2 separate regions of the Homo sapiens genome follow, and region 1 is linked to region 2. Evidence: promoter capture Hi-C in human tissues and cell types (Jung and others, 2019). All regions are on one chromosome and are shown on one strand. The core of a region is centred on a gene start or on the middle of the fragment in contact, and the rest is flanking DNA. Distances in the headings are between cores, read along the strand shown. Region 1 overlaps ADK (adenosine kinase). Region 2 holds the start of SAMD8 (sterile alpha motif domain containing 8).

The links. The method cuts DNA at HindIII sites, captures the fragments that hold promoters and counts their contacts. A contact is called where the count stands out against the background at its distance.
Region 1: a fragment that was not itself captured here is called in contact with the fragment with the promoter of SAMD8 in region 2 in 1 of the 25 tissues and cell types used here (aorta).

The regions. Positions count from the first base shown.
Region 1 is chr10:74,621,318-74,625,637 of GRCh38, forward strand. All of the region lies in intron 9 of ADK (adenosine kinase), which reads left to right. Among named protein-coding and RNA genes, the nearest start is that of ADK-AS1, 94 kb to the left of the region's middle. The HindIII fragment of the contact is 4,426 bases long and covers 434-4,320 here.
Region 2 is chr10:75,109,057-75,113,115 of GRCh38, forward strand. It overlaps SAMD8 (sterile alpha motif domain containing 8), which reads left to right and starts at 2,600. Exons shown (of 6, transcript NM_001174156.2): 1 at 2,600-2,666. It overlaps DUSP13A (dual specificity phosphatase 13A), which reads right to left and starts at 101. Exons shown (of 3, transcript NM_001007271.3): 1 at 1-101. The coding sequence starts at 101. It also overlaps a transcript of DUSP13B not described here. RefSeq lists enhancers at 1,410-2,359, 2,360-3,308 and a silencer at 2,347-2,686. The HindIII fragment of the contact is 21,981 bases long and covers 1-4,059 here.

The sequences.
Region 1 (4,320 bases), core at 1,397-3,896, 490 kb before region 2:
GAAGAAACTGTGCTTTCTCCAGTGACTATTCTTGGTGCTTTTGTCAAAAATCAGTTGACTGTAGATACGTGGATTAATTTCTGAGTTCTCTATTCTGTTCCATTGGTCTTTGTGTCTGTTTTTATGCCAATAACATGCTGTTTTGGTTACTATAGCTTTGTCATATATTTTGAAGTCTGATAGTATGATACCTCCAGCTTTGTTCTTCTTGCTCAGGATGTTTTTTACCATTTAGGGTCTTTTCTGATTCCACAGAAATTTTAGAATATTTTTTCTATTTCTGTGAAGAATGTCATTCGTATTTTGATAAGGGTTGTATTGAATTGGCGGATCACTTTGGGTAGTATATAGGTCTGTTTTTTTGTTTTTGTTCGGTTTGGTTTCTATTTCCTTTTGGGGCTTGTTTCTTGGTTTGCCTGATAATTTTTTATCAAATGTTAAACATTGTCCATAATAAATTATAGAGCTTCTGTTAGTGTAGAGTCCAATTAGATCTAGGACTAAGCCACCTCAAGGTTGGGTTATAGTTTTTGTAAGACCCAGTCTACCTCTCATTTGCTTCCACTTCTATACCATGGCCCTCCTGGAATCTCAGCTGAAATCCTGGTGTTTTTATGAGATCCCTACTCATTAATGGGTTCTGAACTCCAAATTTTATCTGTTTTGTGTACCATACAACTAGCACAATCACCACTCTGCCTTATGGATGCCTTATACTTGGTGTCTTGGCCTCTTGTCCTGCTTCCTGACAAGTGTGGCAAATACCTTGAGTAGAGTATTTCCTCTCCTGAGTTTCAGGCCTACTTTATTGTTTTCCCCTCCTCTTCAGGATCATGACCCTCAGTTCTGTCTGTCTTGACAGTCCCAAACTCGAATTTTTGTCTTACCACCCACTAGAGATTGCAAAAAGTTATGTTGGCTTCTCTGCCTCTTAGTAGTAGTCCATTGCCCAGATTCTCAGCCTCTTACCCGACACAGGAATTTGCAAATACCCTAGGGAGAAAACGACTTTTTGAATGTCAGTTTAGCTCTTTAAGATCCTCTTCTCTCTGAGACCTTCTCTTGTCAAATTTTGACTACCTTGTCAGCTCTCTCATCCCTTCTTTATTTAAAAAAAAAAATTAAGCTTTTCTGCCTTTTTATGGTCTGGGAATTGGTTTACTACAAGCTATGGCATTAGAGCCTAACCAATAGGTCCCTTATTGAATACATTTTTTTATTATTAAATAGAAAAATACATAGCCCGAGAAAGTTAAGTGGGCTTATCTGTGTATTAAGGAATACTGTTTTTAGGAATGTGACTTAGGAATACTGTTCTTCATACCGCACTTTGGGAACTGCTGGATTAGGTCACTTTCCCAAGGTCTCAGAATTAGAAACAAAAGCAGCTAGATTAGAACCCAGCCTCGGCCTGGTGCGGTGGCTCATGCCTGTAATCCTAGCACTTTGGGAGGCCAAGGCGGGAGGGTCACCTAAGGTCGGGAATTCAAGACCAGCCTGACCAACCTGGAGAAACCCTGTCTCTACTAAAAATACAAAATAAGCCAGGTGTGGTGGTGCATGCCTGTAATCCCAGCTACTCGGGAGGCTGAGGCAGGAGAATCGTTAGAACCCGGGAGGCGGAGGTTGCGGTGAGCCGAGATCACACTATTGCACTCTAGCCTGGACAACAAGAGTGAAACTCCGTCTCAAAAACAAAAAACAAAAAACAAAAAAAGAACCCGGCTTCTTGAATCCCAGACTAGTCCAATCTGTTCCATACCATGTTAACTCATTGGCTTACATCTGTGGTTTTCAACCAGAAACAACTTTCCCCCTTCCTTTCAGTTATGACAACTGGCTGGTATGGAAGAGTTGGGTCTTCCACTGGCATTTTGTGGGTAAAAGCCAGGGATGCTGCTATATATACTATAATGCACAAGACAGCCAATCCACAATAAAGAATTATCTGGCCCAAATTATTAATTGCCTCAAGATTAGAAAAGCCCTGTCTTACAGTATCCCTCAAAATTTATATATTTAAAGGATCACTGGCTGATTCCTCTTTACACTTAATCATAAGGTCAACACCAATAGGCTTTAGTAGGATAAAGCATCTTTATCCTACTAAACTACATCCAGAGGCCCTTTGACCCAAGAAAATGTCCATATATGATCTAGTCCGTACTTGCTTAACTGTGTTTCTCAAAGCTTTTGCCAAATATGCTCCAATTCTAAGACTTCTCTTTAGTTAGAATTTGTTAGAGCTGGAAAACTTTCTGGTGTAGAATTGTGCGTGCATATCTTGTAAATGCATTTTGTATGCATGAATGGATATCTAGATGATAGTGACATTTACCTACACATTTATAGATTTTATTTATATATATACACATATATACATAATATATATGTATTCTAGGCATATATATATATATACACACACATTAGTCTAAATGGTTCTTAGAAAATTTATTCATTTTGGTTTATAACTCTAATCAATTTCTATAATCAAAAGCTCTTGAAAATGTAATACAAATAGATATTTAATTAAAGAGGTATATTACCAAATGTTTTTCAGAATAATTATTGTTTGTACCAGTGAGTATTTCTTTCAGAAATTCAATTAGACTCTAAAATTCATTTTTCAGAGCATTACAACTTGGCGGCAAAATTTTCTTTTGGCTGAAACACTGCATGCAAGCTTTTGGCTCAGAAAAAAATCTTTGGAAGTATAGCTGAAAAGTCTGATTCAGATAACTGAATGGCTAAAATTTTCCTTGTTTAAAAGGAATAAACTGGTTACACGTGAAATATTAAAAACTGTATTTAAATGGATAGTTAACTATTGCCTTATTTCTTTTAAGTCTTAACCAAGCTGGCTTATCCTATTTCAACTGCTCTAGAACTCACATCATTTTTGATTCATTGATTTTTTTTTTTTTTTTAGTATCCCAATAGAAGCCATCATTTCTAAGGTTCCACCCCAACTTTGCTGAGCCTTGGCCCAGAAAATTTGTTTAGCTTTTCTCTGCTGTTGTTAAGCTATTTTAAATTTTAAATTTTTGTGTTTTTAAACCTTTCTGTGTTTTTAAAGCCTTTCTGGTTTAATAAACAATTCTAAAATCTCAAGAAAATATCCAAATTCTTTTGTTAATAATTTGGCACTTAGCCATCTATTCAATTTATTTATCATGGTAAATTTTGCTTATACTTAATTATTTCCTCTAGTCCTAGAACTCCACCCCTTACCATAATAAAGGGGCAGTTTATAAAACAGGTGTTTTTGTAAGTAATTTACATGGTTTAGTATGCAAAAAGTACAATAATAGAGCTGTTTAGCTGTCAGTACTTGTGAGGAAGTAAGCAGTTTTTTCGTTATTAGGATGACCATATAACTTATTAGAAAAACTCAGATGCTTTTGAGAGTGAAAGAGTGGGGTGCTATTAATAATACTAGGACAGTTCTGGGCAAACCAGCCCATATGGTCACACTAATCATTATAGATATTTAAACAAAAATATTTGGTAAAATGAATTTGTGTATTGGTTGAGGTTTTTGGCTGTGTTTATTTCTAACATTTCTTCCAGTGAAAAGATTCTTGATCATGTGCTAAGTATATGCCAGGTAATATAGAACTTAAAAAAAACATGAGAACCTCTAATCTCAAGCAGGACAAGTTGGAGAGGCAAGATACTTATAGATAATGCAGTAATGTAACAGCACAAATAAATTCAATTCATTATGGTTTTATTGAGTGCCTACTGTATGTCAAGAATTGTGGTTATAAAGATGAACAAAACAAAAACTCCTTTTCTTGAAATCTAGAAGAGACATACTTAAATAATATGATGTGAAAAATGATATTATTTTCATGAACTAATTTTTATAGAACAAATGGAACAAGAAGTTGGGGAAAGCTTTTCAAAGCAAGTGATGTATGAACTAGGCCTTGAGGAATCCTTACAATTTTGGCAAGTTGAGATTACAAAGGTATTCAAAGTTAATGAGGTAATAAAAGCAAAAGGCAGAGTCCTTCATATGATTTGTTACAAGAAATGGCAGAAGGGAGATATGGGGCAACCATCTCTGAAATGGTAATTGTGATGGGATTTAAATGCTATGCTGGGCAATACATTATTAAGTGCTTAAAGTATATATATATATAGAGAAGACATCCTTTGGACTGAGAAACATTTTGTGATCAGTTTACCGTAATTCCATAAAAGAAAGGAATCACACTTCCATTTGTTTATAAAGCCCTGTTTCAGAGGGATCAACAAATACTAAAGATGAAAATCCTTTTTTTAATTAAATGCTAAAGAATAAAAGCTGCAATA
Region 2 (4,059 bases), core at 1,350-3,849:
GAAGACTTCCCTGCCCGCAGGAGCTCCTCCAGCTCCAGGATGCTGGGGCAAGGCGTGGCTTTGTCCTCTCCCCCCAGCTCTGGGAGAGAGGTCTCAGCCATGGGCCAGCCCGCCCACCCCTCTGCCTCTGTGGTCACTCCTCTCTGCCTCTCCAGTGTCATTTCTCCTTCCCAGAGATTGACAGGGACAGGTGACAGAAGCAAGTGACTCAGCAAGTCACAGGGGCCTCTGGAGTGGACAAGACCTTTTCCTCCCCAAGCCTCCCCCCACCCCCAAACTCCATGAGAACACAGAATCAGAGAGACCTCTGCAAGTCAGCTACCACCCTGAACCTCAGTTTCTTCATCTGTAAAGTAAGGATAATCACACCTACCTCAGAGAATTTGAGGATTAGATGAAACAAAGGACATGCTGGGTCTGACACATAGTAGGTGCTTAGAAACATCTGTGGAATTAGTAGATGTAGAGCCCTGCCTAAGGCTATTAGGTTCTGAGGACTGAGTTAAAGTAGAGATCCAGGGTGCAGAGGAGGTGGCTGGTTCCAAGGATGAATGATAGAAAGAACTGAAAGAAGTGTACAGTCTAGGTGGGCCACAAATTGGGCAGGAGCTGGATTGGATGTCTGTTGGATGAGTCTCTGAATTACGGAGGTCAGGGACAGTTTTCTGAGTTGTAGAGTCAGAGAAATATGGGTAAGAGACATGGAGAGCTTCCTTTAAAGGGTGCCCACAAGATTCATGGGGGGAGGGGGAAGGTGTTTTTTTTTGTTTTGTTTTGTTTAGACAGGGTCTCACTCTGTCACCCAGGCTGGAGTGCAGTGGCATCATCTTGGCTCACTGCCACTACCACCTCCCAGGTTCAAGTGATTCTCCTGCTTTAGCTTCCTGAGTAGCTAGGATTACAGGCATGTGCCACCATGCCACACTAATTTTTGTGTTTTTAGTAGAGATGGGGTTTTGCCATGTTGGTCTGACTGGTCTTGAACTCCTACCTCAAGTGATCAGCCTGCCTCGGCCTCCCAAAGTACTGGGATTACAGGTGTGAGCCGCCGTGCCGGGCCAATGGGGCAAGGTTTGAACAATGGTCCTGTAGTGAAGATGGCTAACTTCTCAGAAGAGAAGGCTGAAGAGGGCCTTGTATGTCAAATGGGGAGACGGGAGGTGAGTGTTGCCCTAGACTTTGAGAGCCAAAGGGGCTAACTGTCATCAGAAACAGTGGGAGGGAGATTCCTCTGCCTATAAGGGCTTTGGGTCCCAAAATAGAAACTGAGAAAGGTCAACCTGTCCTTCTGCCAGAGCTGGTTATCAGCAAGAGAGATGAGATGTCTCACCCTCTCTCATGTGACTTCTCAGTGGCCCTAATGGAGCTGGGAAGGGTATGAGCTGCAGTGGGGAGGTTCCCAGCTGCCCTTGGCCTTAAGACCAGTTTGAAGGGAAAGGCCACACCAGGGCATCCCATGGAAGCAGTCTACACTCATGTCTATCCCATTCAGAACCATTGAAGTCGGCCCGGCACTGTGTGGGGAGGCAAGACCAAGGAGGGGCTCGTGTCCAGGTTACAGCTGGGTTTGGACTTGGTTTATGCCAATGCTAGACCTGGCTTGGGAGGAGACCTTCCCTCAGGGTGGTGCAGCATGGTGGAGTGAGGAAAATACAGGATCTGATGTTAGAGAGATTTGGGTTGGAATATCAGTTTGCAATATGTCAGGCAGTATGTTTCTTTACTTTTCTGTGCTATAGGATCCCCCTTGCAGAATTAGCACTAGGATTTTTTTTTTGAGATGGAGTTTGCTCTTGTCGCCCAGGCTGGAGTGCCATGGCGTGATCTCGGCTCATTGCAACCTCCATTTCCCGGGTTCAAGCGATTCTCCTGCCTCAGCCTCCCGAGTAGCTGGGATTACAGGTATGCACCACCACGCCCGGCTAATTTTTGTATTTTTAGTACAGACGAGGTTTCCCCATGCTGGCCAGGCTGGTCTCGAACTCCTGACCTCAGGTGATCCCGCCTCAGCCTCCCAAAGTGCTGGGATTACAGACGTGAGCCTCCGCTCCCGGCCTTAGCACAAGGATTAAATGAGATGTTTATATGGCGTTTGGCATAGACACTGTCAAAGAGTAAATGGGCAATAAATTATAACAATGATCATTGGGGGCTGGCTATTGGAGAAGAGCTGGCTCTCTCCAGAGGAATTCGGATTACCTCCTTCTAGGCCCTAACCCCATTTACTGATCCCACAGGCCCCGCCCCGGCTCCGCTAGCCCCGCTTCCTCCTGTCGCTTTGGCCTCCGGCATGACGCATGCGCCCTCGGGCTCCTCCGCGGCAGCATCTCGGTTCTCCTCTCGGGCCCATCTGGAGCCTCGCGTCTTTTCCAGTGTGGGCCCCGCCCCCTGCCGGTAGAACCCCGTCCCCGGCCGGTAGGGCCCCGCCTCCCGAAGCAGTTCCGGTTCGGCTCCGAGCAGCTGCCGGCGCGGCGGTGACGGCGGCCGGGACGATGCCTGCGCGCAGTCGCCACCGCCCCCGCCTCCACTCCGGCTCCCCGCCCCGGGCTCCGCCCCCGCCGCTTGAGGCGCTTCACTCCGGCGAGGCGGGGAGGGCCCCGGACTCCGACGGCGGCTCGGACGCCGACTCGGAGGTGGGTCCGGGGAGCCCGACTCGGACCGCGGAGGTGAGCGGGAGCTGAGGCTGAGGAGAGGGGAGCTTGGGGGGCGCCTGCTGCCAAGGGTGAGTGGGGAGTCTGGGATGGAGCCGGGGGCTGCCGAGGGACCGCGACCTGGAGGGGCCCCGGGGAGACGGTTGAGGGAACCGGGATAGTCAGCTCTGGAATGGAATCTGAAGCAAATGGAGGTTGTCGAACTGAGGGCCTGAAGGCTGAGGGATAAGTGGAGGCCGAGGAACGAGAGGGAGAGAGCGAGAGGGGGAGGCTTGAAGAGCCCAGAGCTTGGGGGCTTTTGAAAGCTGCGCAGTGGGGGAAAAAGATCGAAGGTCCTGCGGGAATGTGGACCCGGAAGAAGAGATGCTCTGGGTTTGGCAGCGGGGATGAGGAGTCAGAGGAGCAAGACCTGGGCCGGTGTTCCCTTCCCAGGGCGAGGGAGGGCGATCGGGGCTGGGACTGGAGCCCTCTCATGGGGTTCTCCTCTTACGGAGCCCTCTTATCCGCCTCCCACCCCGGGTGGGGCTGGTGGTGATGGAGGGCAGGATTTAGGTTTGACTAGAAGGAGGAGGGCTGTTGGATGGGAAATCGTCTGGCCTCAAGGGGTGAGGGAGGCACTGAAAAAGAGAAGTGTGGTCAAGAAAGAAAAGGAGCCCTTGGGGATCTAATTTTGGGCTTTGGCATTTTTACAGGTGCCTTTTAAAACATCAAAGATCACTAGGGCAATGTACTTGGATCGTGGGGCTTTCTCGTTCGTGCACAGTGGATCATTTTAAGAATCTTGGGTGGAAGGGGCGGTGTGAATCACTGATTTGCCTAAAGGACTGGGGGAAGTAGTGGAGAGGAAGTGATGTTTGAAGAAGGTAGTGGAAGACGTGATTCTGAAAATGAAGATATCATTTGGATTTATTGACAGTAATGGTGTCCTTTTTTTCATTGTAATTTTTTCGTAGCTAAGTTTAAATACCAGACATGTTAAGATCCTAAAAATTTACTATATTACCTTTAAGTTTTAAAAACTTGAAACAAGACTTTGGATACTCAGATTTTAAAAATTAAACTTGAAACAAGAATTTGGACACTTGGATTTTACAGATACTCAACATGGACTGGTTCCACTTTCAAAGTTTTAAGTTGACACATGTATTTGCCACATAGTAAATGTATGGTCAATGCAAGTTTCTGGGTGAAGGGGGCACAGTGAACTTGCCACAGTCTAGGCGCAATACCAAATCTTCCTCTCACTGATAACCCCAGGATTGGACTTATCTCTTGAAAATTGGAGAGGTACCTTTGACTGATTGGCAAAACCAATATTGAAATACTATTTTGCAGGTATTGTGTGAATAGTATTTTTAGTAGAGTGATTTGGAAAAATAAGGACAGAGGATGCTTGTAGTTGGCAGCC